Linked DNA regions of Homo sapiens: all the other regions are linked to region 2. The links are contacts of gene promoters, found by promoter capture Hi-C in human tissues and cell types (Jung and others, 2019). All regions are on one chromosome and are shown on one strand. The core of a region is centred on a gene start or on the middle of the fragment in contact, and the rest is flanking DNA. Distances in the headings are between cores, read along the strand shown.

Region 1 (3,638 bases), core at 579-3,078, 160 kb after region 2:
TTCAAAACTGAAAATTTTAAGAAATGAGTCCTTTCTCCAAACAACAAAAAAAATCAGCATATGGAACTCCTCAAATCATGTGAAGATATCAATATTTTGCCTTTAATTTCAGTCTCAAAACTGCAGTTCTCTATAACTCTTATCTATCCCCCTTCTTTTCTAGCTCCCATGTGTAGTATACATTAACCGTGAAATTGGCAGCAAGGGACAGTACTGCATATAGATTCTCTTTTTCAGCAAACAACTTCAACTCCAAAGAGAAACAACATACACACGCAAATTTTCATTAGGAATAAAAACACAATTTCCTCACTGGTAAATTGAGGAAGGCAAACAAGATGATTTTGGAAGGCCTTTTCAGCTCTAACATTCCACAACCTATGGATCCTTTCTTTCCTTGGCTCCTCATAGAAAAATCTATTAAAACAAATGAAAGAAAAAATGGTTCTTTTGTTCATACTGCTAACTTTTGCATTAGCTCAAGATAAAAGGAAAATCAAAGAGAGGCTTTCAGGGCAATAAATGAGTTCATTCATAAGGATGGGAAAAATCCCATCCACCTAATTATTTATTAGTGAAATTAAAACACAAATATTATTTACAGAAGATACCACTTCAACCAGTGAAGACAGGAAACAAAAATATATAGTATTACAACACATAAAAAAATCAATTAATGTAAATCTGACACAAAAGTGATTGGGTGGGCAAGTTCTGGACTCTAAAAATATATTTTGCTTTCCCTGCCTAACGCAGCCATGGCGCGTGGTCCCAAGAAGCATCTGAAGTGGGCAGCAGCTCCAAAGCATTGGATGCTGGATAAATTGACCGGTGTGTTTGCTCCTCGTCCATCCACTAGTCCCCACAAGTTGAGAGAGTGTCTCCCCATCATATTCCTAAGGAACAGACTTAAGTAAGCCCTGACAGGAGATGAAGTAAAGAAGATTACATGCAGAGGTTCATTAAGATCGATGGCAAGGTCCGAACTCATATAACCTACCCTGCTGGATTCATGGATGTCATCAGCATTGACAAGACGGGGGAGAATTTCCGTCTCATCTATGACACCAAGGGTCGCTTTGCTGTACATCCTATTACACCTGAGGAGGCCAAATACAAAGTGAGAAAAATCTCTGGGGGCACAAAAGGAATCCCTCATCTGGTGACTCATGATGCCCGGCACCATCCGCTACCCTGATTCCCTCATCAAGGTGAATGATACCATTCAGACAGATTTGGAGATTGGCAAGATTACCAATTTCATCAAGTTTGACAATGGTAACCTATGCATGGTGACTGTAGGTGCTAACCTGGGAAGAACTGGTGTGATAACCAACAGAGAGAGGCACTCTGGATCTTTTGATGTGGTTCACATGAAAGATGCCAATGGAAACAGCTTTGCCACTCAACTTTCCAACATTTTTGTTATTGGCAAGGGCAACAAACCACAGACTTCTCTTCCCTGAGGAAAAGGGTATCTGCCTCACCATTGCTGAAAAGAAAGACAAAAGACTGGCGACCAAACAGAGCAGTGGGTGAAATGGTCCCTGGGTGACATGTTAGATCTTTGTACGTAATTAAAAATAATGTAGCATGATAAACAGAATTTTATTGCCATTATGAATCTCAAATTGGCTAGCCTGAAATTCTTTCAAGCTTGAAAATTCCTTAGATTCCTTAATAACAGTTCAGTTTTAAAAATAGTTAAGAAACAGAGGTAAATAAAAATCTAATCGTGACACAGTTACTGACTCCTCAATATATCTTCTAAGATATCTAACAAGAATCTTGAATCTCACATTTCCAAAACACCACTCTTGATTTCCCTACCTTAAACCCGCTCTTCCCTCTTGCTTTACCATTTCAGTTCAGCTCAGAGAATCAGCCTTGATTCCTCTATTTTCCTCACTCTACAGCTAATCCATCAGGAAGTCTTGTTGATTTGACCCACAAAATATATCCAGAATCCAACCATTTCCCTCCATTTCTGCTGCTCCCACCATGCTGTTTCAAGTGACATCATCTCTCATCTATATTCTAACACCTGGGTCCCTCTTCCATTCTGTCTTCAAATAATCCATTCCACAACCAGAGTCATACTTTTAAAAACACAAATGTCTCCATGTTTAAACACCCCAAAAGCTGCCCACGTGCCAGGCAATTTTATTAAAATAAAATTTAAATTCCCTGAATAAACCTGTATAATCTGTTCTCTGACTGGCCCACTGACCTTATCTCATTTCACTCTTCCCTCTAGTTCCTCATGCTCTAACTACACTGGCCTTCTTTTGGTCCTTTAAAAAAAAAAAAAAAAAAAGAAGGCCAGGCACAGTGGCTCACGCTTGTAATCTCAGCAATTTGCGGGGCCAAGGTGGCGGATCACTTGAAGTCAGGAGTTTAAGACCAGCCTGGCCAACATGGTGAAACCCCGTCTCTACTAAAAATACAAAAATTAGCCGGATGTGGTTGCGCAGGCCTGTAGTCCCAGCTACTCGGAAGGCTGAGACAGGAGAATCACTTGAACCTGGGAGGCGGAGGTTGCAGTGAGCCGAGATGGTGCCACTGCACTCCAGCCTGGGCAACAGAGCGAGACTCTATCTCAAAAAAAATATAATTATAATAATAAAATAAAGGAGAAGATGAAAGAAGAGAAAGATGATACAAGCAGGCGCAGGTGGTGGTGGGAGGCAGGAGGGGAAGGCAAGGAAGATAAGCATATTCCCACCTTTGGACCTTGGCACTAGCTTGTTTCCTCTACCTTGAAACACTCTTCCCCCAGCTGCTGTTCCCAGTAGAAGCTTTCAAAATGTTAACCACAACCCGTAGTAAGAAATGTATTTCATATTATTATTCATATTTATATACATAACTATATAAAACTAAAACAATTTAAATGTGTATTACTTACTATATACACACTTCAATGTTTTTATTCTATTTTGATCTTTAATTTTTAACACTTTATAATACAATTAATTTCAAAACCCACTAATAGGTACAACCCAAAGTTTGAGAAACACTGTACTAGTAATAAAACATTAAACACATGCTATATAATTTGGAAGTTCCAAAGCACATAGCAAAATGTCTGTAACAATGACTTTCTGATACTTCTGCTCTATAGGTATAGTTGCCTAAAGGTTGCTCTTTTCTCTAGGAAATGAAAGAATAAAATCTGCTTCAGCTTTCAGAACTCTACTGACTCCCAAGGTATACACTGGAGGTAAACAATTTCTGGAAAAGTAGCTCTAACACGCAATTCGAATTTCTCCAAAAATAACAGATAACGTCATAGCTAAAGTATGGTTAAATTAGATTATATGGTACCCATAGACCACGTCTTCTCCCTTCAACAAGATAAAGCAGGTTAAGTACGCTTTTAAGAGTCAGCAGAGGCCGGGCGCAGTCGTTCACGTCTATAATCCCAGCACTCTGGGAGGTTGAGGCAGGTGGATAAGGAGGTTGAGATGGAGACCATCCTGGCCAACATGGTGAAACTCCATCTCTACTAAAAATACAAAAAGTAGCCAGGCGTGGTGGCAGGTGCCTGTAATCCCAGCTACTCGGGAGGCTGAGGCAGGATAATCACTTGAACCTGGAAGGTAGAGGTTGCAGTGAGCTGAGATCGCACCACTGCA
Region 2 (3,586 bases), core at 867-3,366:
ACAAAATGAGGTCTATCCACACAATGAAATATTAACCCATCATTGGTCACCCCCAAAAAGTAAGGAAATTCTGACACACGCGGCACCGTGGGTGAACCTTACCGACATTGTGCTAAGTGAAATGAGCCAGTCATGGAAGGACAACTATGTGATGACTTCCCTTCTGTGAGGTCCCTAGAACCGTCAACATCAGAGATACAGAAAGGAGAGTGGTGGCCGCCAGCGGCTGGGGGAGGAGGGAACGGGAGCTAGTGTTTAATGGGTTCAGAGTTTCAGTTTTACAAGATGAACGAATTATAGAGATAGATGGCGGCGAAGGTGGAGCAACATGATTAATGTATTTAATTACACTAAACCGTACACTTAAAAAGATGATTAAGATGGCACATTTTATGCCACAATAAATATTGGGCCACAATAAAAAAGTTGAAAAAAGGTGAATATTTATTCAGTTTTAAAAATCATTCCAAATTACAAATTTTAAGAAGCTGGTGAATTCCACCAAATTCACAAAACCTAGAGAAGTTACATTCTTTTTATGTATTGACTGCCCAGTGTGCCTCTGTAGTATTTTTTCTAAATGTGTTTGATTTGTAATCCTCAAAACATGTACAAAATTTATGTGAAATTAAGGCATTCATAGGAATCATTTAGATGCCTTTAAAAAATACATTGTATTCAGCCACAAAACTGTGCCACCAGATTACTCTGATACTACAGCACTGACTTATTGATGAATCTGTGTAGGAGTTTTGTCATCAGAACACTTGCTTCTGCAAGCATTTCTCTGCGTTGGTGGCAATTTTGCTTACCATTTTGCTGGAACCACCAGATTTTGTGAAGACACAGTGCACCAGTTACACTAAGAAAATAATCTGATACGGGGACTGCATAAAATCTATGACTTCACCCCCGGAGAACCCATGTGGTACTACTACTGGTTTGGGCTCACAACACAAGAATTTTGATCAATTCTAATTTGTGTAACTCTCATCAGAACACAAAGCAATGTACGGTGTAATTATATTCTTTCAATATCCACTATTTTCCTAACAGGAGAGAACTTCTGTCCTGGCCAGGCCTTGGTGAGAACCAAATCCTCCACCAACGATGTTACCTGTGTGGCTTTTTGTAGATTTTCTGCAGATGAGCTCCTGACTGTTACTTTGCCCTCCCCACCACACATGGCCAGGGTGGGTGTGACAGCGTGCGCTCACATCACGGCCCAGCCTCTCTTGCTGCATCTGCTGGTGGGATGTCCTGTGGGATGAGTGTTCCTGGAAGCCCTGCCTACACTCAGCTGGAGGTAACTTCTCTGTACAAAGAAGTCACTGTGAACCATGTCAGCATATCCCACTAAGCCCAGATTAAGTGTTTCCCCAGCTCACTTTCCTCTTAACTGGATCCCCCAAGTGCCCTCAGCCACCCAAACATCATCCAACTAAGAGTCCCTCAGACGGAAGAGAAGTTGGGATGGAAAGAGACAGACAGTCTCAACCGGTTATGGTTAAACTATCTCAACTTTTGCATATTTTACAAAAACATTTGGCCACAGGAACACATTGCTAGGGCCTCTCCGGGAAAGGGGGGAGTCTGTGGATTCAGGGGTCCTGAAGCTTCATCAGTTGCACAGCAAATGCGTCCCCAGCCCCGCCCACGAGCAGCTGAGATGTGGAGGCGTGGGTCCACTGACTTCACCTATGACCTATGACCTGTCCCAAAGGCACCAGGCCTGGAAACACCAGCCAGAGTCCCAGCTCTGCCCCTGGGACTCCCCGGGCCTCAAGAGCCTCTGCCAAGCAGGGATGAGGACACACCCCCACCTCAGGGTCAACAAGAGATTTGTGGGTCAATCAGAGTACTGTGCAAACTCAGCTGCTGTCCTCTGGCCATAGTCACAGCAAGCCCTTCCTGGGTCCAGAAGGTGGTTCCACAGGAACGGGGCTGCCTCTTTAAAGCAGAGGGGTGCACTATAGCCCTGAGGGAACCAGCTGCAGTTGTGGTAATCTTGGGAGGCAGCTCCCCACCCCCTGCCACCCCCTCCCTGCTGTCAGGAGAGGATTAGAGGAGAGGCCAGCGGATTAAAGGGTTTCATGTTGCCACAGCCTCTCCCCCAGTCCCTGTCTCCGAGGCCTGCTTGCTAGGTGGGGCGACTCTTCTGTGAGCTGCAGCTGTGGGGCAGAGAGAAGCCCTCCCCACCCAGGACTGAGAGGCTGGAGACCCCAGGCTCGCCAAGGCACGGAAGACAAAGGCCTGGGGCGTCCTGGGGTCTGGGAGGAAGGCAGACAGAGCTCATGGTCTGTGGCTGCTCTGCCCTCCTTCCCCTCCCCAACCCCAGGCCCACCATGCCTGCAACTCCCAACTTCCTCGCAAACCCCAGCTCCAGCAGCCGCTGGATTCCCCTCCAGCCAATGCCCGTGGCCTGGGCCTTTGTGCAGAAGACCTCGGCCCTCCTGTGGCTGCTGCTTCTAGGCACCTCCCTGTCCCCTGCGTGGGGACAGGCCAAGATTCCTCTGGAAACGTAAGCATCACGTTCAACCCCACCCCAAAAACCCGGTCACCCTTTCCCACTTTCTTCCCGGGCTGGGCCTCCATCCTCTGCCCACTCCTCCCGCCCCTGCCCTCCCTCTGGGCTTTTCCCCAGTGGCTGCGACTGACCACTCTCTTGCTGTAAAGCCCTTTGCTTCTCCGGCCTCCTCTTTCTCCTCCCAAAAGCTCTGTGAGTTCTGGAGTCCCACCTGCCTCTCCCCAGGAGCCGGATGGCTTTAGGAAGAACTGATCATCAGGGCTGCTGTCTTCCTGGCCTGACAAGCAGCTTCTGGGACACCTGAAGGGCGGGTGCTCCTTCAGGATAATCGCTGAGATGAGGCAGCCTGGAGGAGCCGGGTTATCTCAGCATCGCAGCTCCCCGAAGCATTTGGCAGGAAATGCGTATTTTGACATTCCAAAAAGGGGAAGCAGTTCTGAACCCACAGAACGTCTCATGCGCACAGGAGGTGGCTTGTCCAGGAACTGGGGAAAAAAATGGATTTTGGTGGCCGCAGTCTTCCCTTTCTACACCTTTCTGCCTCCTTCCAACCTTGATTCTCTAGCCGGCCATTAAGACCGGCTCCAGGAAAGAACCCGGTATCAGTCATGTGCACCTTGGTGTACATGTAAATTACTGTGCAACCTCTCTGGGGTGTCTGTGTTTTAGGCCCTAGCTCAGGTGGTCCTAGGAAGGAAATTTCCAATACATGTGGGTAGCAGAGCCTTCTAGACTGTAGGTGCTACAGACCCCATCCTGTTTACTCCAGCCGCTTGAGCCCAGCACCATAGCCAGGCCACCAACAGAGCCACCTGCCAACTGCATGTCTTAGCAGGAGTGGGGACAGGGAGCCTAAATGACACACCGTGCCTGTGCTTAGCCTTTGCTGACCAGTGGATTAGGCAGCATCGTTTCCCATCGAGCCGCATAGCTCTCCTTGTTCCCTGCCTGGCACGGAGCTGGGCGCTTCACAAATGACACCGTTAGTTTGCAGAGCCATTCAGTGGGGGCTTATTTTTATCCCTATTTTGCAGCTGAGGAAACAGAGGCCCCGAGAGG
Region 3 (3,821 bases), core at 1,033-3,532, 220 kb after region 2:
AAGCTACGATTGCACCACTGCACTCCAGTCTGGGCAACAGAGTAAGACGCTGTAACCAAAAAAAAAAAAAAGAAGGAAAAAAGAAAAGAGAAAGAAAAAGAGAAGGCTGAAAATGATAAAGATGGGTGGGGAAGCACCAGTCTCAGTGAGGAGGAGGGTGCTGCTGGTGAATCTGTTGACAAGTAGAAACTGCAAGAAATCTCCTAGAAGCTGAACAGCACCCATGGAGGAGTGAAAAGCCAAACTAAACGATGACTTCTAGAAAATCTGCATGGCTCAACTAAGGAAAAAATTCAGTGCTGCCCCCAGGGAAAGCCCAAGAGGAAATGTATTGAAATAGTGATAAGGAGCAAGTAATTTTTTCTAACATTGATGACAGTCATAAAAAGCCAAAGTCTGACAAGGAGACATGACTAGCAACTGCAATGGCTGGACAGACCAAAAAGAATTTATGAGGAAGAAAACCAAAATGAATCATTTTCCAAATCCAGAGATAAAGAGAAAAAAGAAGAACTTTGATGATTAGGTATAGCCAGAATGTCCCGTCAAAAAAAATAAGCATTCCTTTGGGGAAAAGCTGCTGCCACTATGAGATACACTTAAAAAAAAAAATAGAAAAATAAAAAGAGAGAAAAAGTAACATCCAAGCCAGCCTTCCATTCCCAAAATAAATTGTCATTAATCTGAAAATTAGTAAATCAAGAATGTTTACATTAGAAAGTCCAAAAGCACTATATCCTGAAAACCACCAAAAAAGGTGAATGACTGCTGAATGACGGGTTTCGTCATTTTTTTTTTTTTTTTTTGAGATGGAGTTTTGCTCCTGTTGCCCAGGCTAGAGCGCAGTGGTGCAATCTCGGTTCACTGCAACCTCCACCTCCCAGTTTCAAGCGATTCTCCTGCCTCAGCCTCCTGAGTAGTTGGGATTACAGGCGCGCGCCACCATACCCAGATAATTTTTTTTTTAATATATTTTTGGTAGAGAGGGGGTTTCATTCATGTTGGCCAGGCTGGTCCCGAACTCCTGACCTCAGGTGATCCACCTGCCTTGGCCTCCCAAAGTGCAAGGATTACCGACGTTAGCCACCACCCTCAGCCCACTTTTTTTTTTTTTTAAGAGACAGAGTCATGCTGTGTTGCCCAGACTGGTCAGAGTCATGCTGTGTTGCCCAGACTGGTCTCAAACTCCTAGCCTCAAGCAATCCTCCCACCTCAACCTCCCAAGTAGCTGGAACTACAGGCGCAAGCCACCACTGGGCTTGATCCCATTTTTGTAAAAAATAACTCTCGGCCAAGTGCAGTGGCTCATGTCTGTAACCCTAACACTTTGGGAGGCTAAGGTGGGAGGATCGCTTGAGCCCGGGAGGTCGAGGCTGCAGAGCCATGACGGCACCAGTGCACTCCAGCCTGAGATACAGAGTGAGATCTTAAAAAAACAAAACAAAAAAAAAAAAAAAACTGCAACACAAAGAATAAGCCCTATGTAAACTATAGACCAATAAATAACAACATATTGATATGGGCTCATCAAATGCAATAAATGTGCCAAATTAATGCAAGATGTTTGCAATAGGAGAAACGAGGGAAGGGAAGGGAATATGGGAACTTTCTGTGCTATCGGCTCAAATTTCTGTACATCTAAAGCTGCTAAAAAAAAGTGTAATTTTTAAATTCTGAATATGCAGACAAATCTGCAAATAATTACTTGTATATGCACACAAAGAGAGGTGAAAAGACCTATATCAAACTGTTGCCCCTGGTTATCTACAAAGGATGAAAACTGGAAACTAGCGCATGAGAAGGAATTTTTTTACATTATACAGTTGGCCCTCCATATCCATGGGCTCTTATGTCTGTGGATTCAACCAAGCTTGGATCCAAAAAGTTTAATATAGCATCTGTATTTGAAACATGCAGACTTTTTTTTCTTGTCTTTATTCCCCAAACAATACAGTATAACAACTATTTACATAGCATTTATATTCTATTAGGTATTATAAGTAATCTAGAAATGATATAAAGTATTTGGGAGGATATGCACAGGTTATATGCAAATACTATGCCATTTATATCAGAGATTTGAGCATCTGTGCATCTTGATATTCACCAAAGGTCCTAGAAGCAGTCCCTACAGACACCAAGGGATGACAGTATATCTCTGGACTGTCTAAACTTTCTACACTGAGCAATAATGTAAGTAGAGGCTCTGTAGCATATTGTTAAGAATTTGGGTTTCTCAAATCAGACTGCATGAAATCAAATCCTAGCTCCACCATTTGCTAGCTGATAAACTTCCAACAGTTACTTAATTTTTCTCCTTGCCTTAGTTTCCTCACCTGTAAAACAGAAATCATAGTATACACTCACAGAGCTGCCACAGCAATTAAATAATTTCATACACGTAAAGTAGTGGAAATTGTCTAGTACATAGTAAGTGCTCAATAAATGTTAACCAGCATCTTCATTACCAAGCATTTATTATTCCTGGATTTTCTTTTTAAATCTTGACTGGTAAGACTAATCATGAAAACCCGGTTCATAAGCCCCTTTCTAGAAAGACCTCCAATGCAGAAAATACAAAAGCAATCAAAATCCAAATACAAATAATGAAATACTTCTTAAAAAAGCAGATTACAGGGCTGGGCACGGTTGCTCACACCTGTAATCCCAGCACTTTGAGGGGTGAGGCAGGTGGATCACATGAGGAGTTCGAGACCAGCCTGGCCAACATGGTGAAACCCCGTCTCTACTAAAAATACAAAAAAAAAATTGGCCGGGCTTGGTGGCGCACACCTGTAATCCCAGCTACTAGGGAGGCTGAGGCAGGAGAATTGCTTGAACCCAGGAGGCAGAGGTTGCAGTGAGCCAAGATCGTGCCATTGCACTCCAGCCTGGGCAACAAGAACGAAACTCCGTCTCAAAAAACAAAATGAACAAAAAAAAAAAAAAGCAGATTACAAACCAACATTTATCAATTTGAGTTCATTTATATAAAAAATAATCACCAACAAATTCTATAATCACAGAAAAAAAGCCCCAAGTGGTGTACTTGTAAATAACTTTTACTTTCTCCTTTACAATTTTCTGACTCATTTAAATTTTCAACATTGACTATGTATCATTTTTAATGGAGCTCGGCAAACTTTTTATATTAAGGTCCACATAGTAAATAAATATAAGGTGTTACAGGCCACATGGCTCTCTGGCACAACTACTCAACTCTGCTGCTGTACCCCAAAAGAAACTACAGACAATACCTAAACGACTGCATATGGCTATGTTCTAATAAAAACTTTTTTCTTCCTCTTTTTTTTAAGACGGAGTTTCGCTCTTGTTGTCCAGACTGGAGTGCAATGGTGCAATCTTGGCTCACTGCAACCTCTACCTCCCGGGTTTAAACGATTCTCCTGCCTCAGCCTCCCGGGCAGCTGGGATAACAAGAGTGCGCCACCACACCCGGCTAATTTTTGTAGTTTTAATAGGGACGGGGTTTCACCATGTTGGCCAAGCTGGTCTCAAACTCCTGATCTCAGGTTATCTGCCCGCCTCGACCTCCCAAAGTGCTGGGATTACCAGCGTGAGCGATCGCACCAGGCCTAATCAAATCTTTATTTACAAAAAGAGGCAACTGGCAGGACTGGGCCTGCAGGCTTTAAAATCTGTCAATCCCTGAAATAAAGAATAAAACAAAATTATTTTCATTTTAGGAAACAAAATGTGATTTATACTAAAAAAAAAAAGTGCACCAGCTAAATTGATACTATTGATAGAAAAAACCATTTATTTATAAATTCATACAAGGAGCCTAGGGATAGAAAAAA

What was found. Contacts are between HindIII fragments. The study calls those that stand out against the background at their distance.
Region 1: a contact is called between a fragment that was not itself captured here and the fragment with the promoter of CACNA2D4 in region 2, in 2 of the 25 tissues and cell types used here (IMR-90 fibroblasts and aorta).
Region 3: a contact is called between a fragment that was not itself captured here and the fragment with the promoter of CACNA2D4 in region 2, in 1 of the 25 tissues and cell types used here (spleen).

What each region holds. Positions count from the first base shown.
Region 1 is chr12:1,755,132-1,758,769 of GRCh38, reverse strand. All of the region lies in intron 2 of ADIPOR2 (adiponectin receptor 2), which reads right to left. It also overlaps the pseudogene RPS4XP14. Among named protein-coding and RNA genes, the nearest start is that of LRTM2, 64 kb to the left of the region's middle. The HindIII fragment of the contact is 4,565 bases long and covers 1-3,638 here.
Region 2 is chr12:1,917,182-1,920,767 of GRCh38, reverse strand. CACNA2D4 (calcium voltage-gated channel auxiliary subunit alpha2delta 4) reads left to right here and starts at 2,116. Exons shown (of 38, transcript NM_172364.5): 1 at 2,116-2,521. The coding sequence starts at 2,295. RefSeq lists an enhancer at 3,467-3,586. The HindIII fragment of the contact is 9,283 bases long and covers 1-3,586 here.
Region 3 is chr12:1,692,649-1,696,469 of GRCh38, reverse strand. All of the region lies in intron 1 of ADIPOR2 (adiponectin receptor 2), which reads right to left. Among named protein-coding and RNA genes, the nearest start is that of ADIPOR2, 3.5 kb to the right of the region's middle. The HindIII fragment of the contact is 3,880 bases long and covers 343-3,821 here.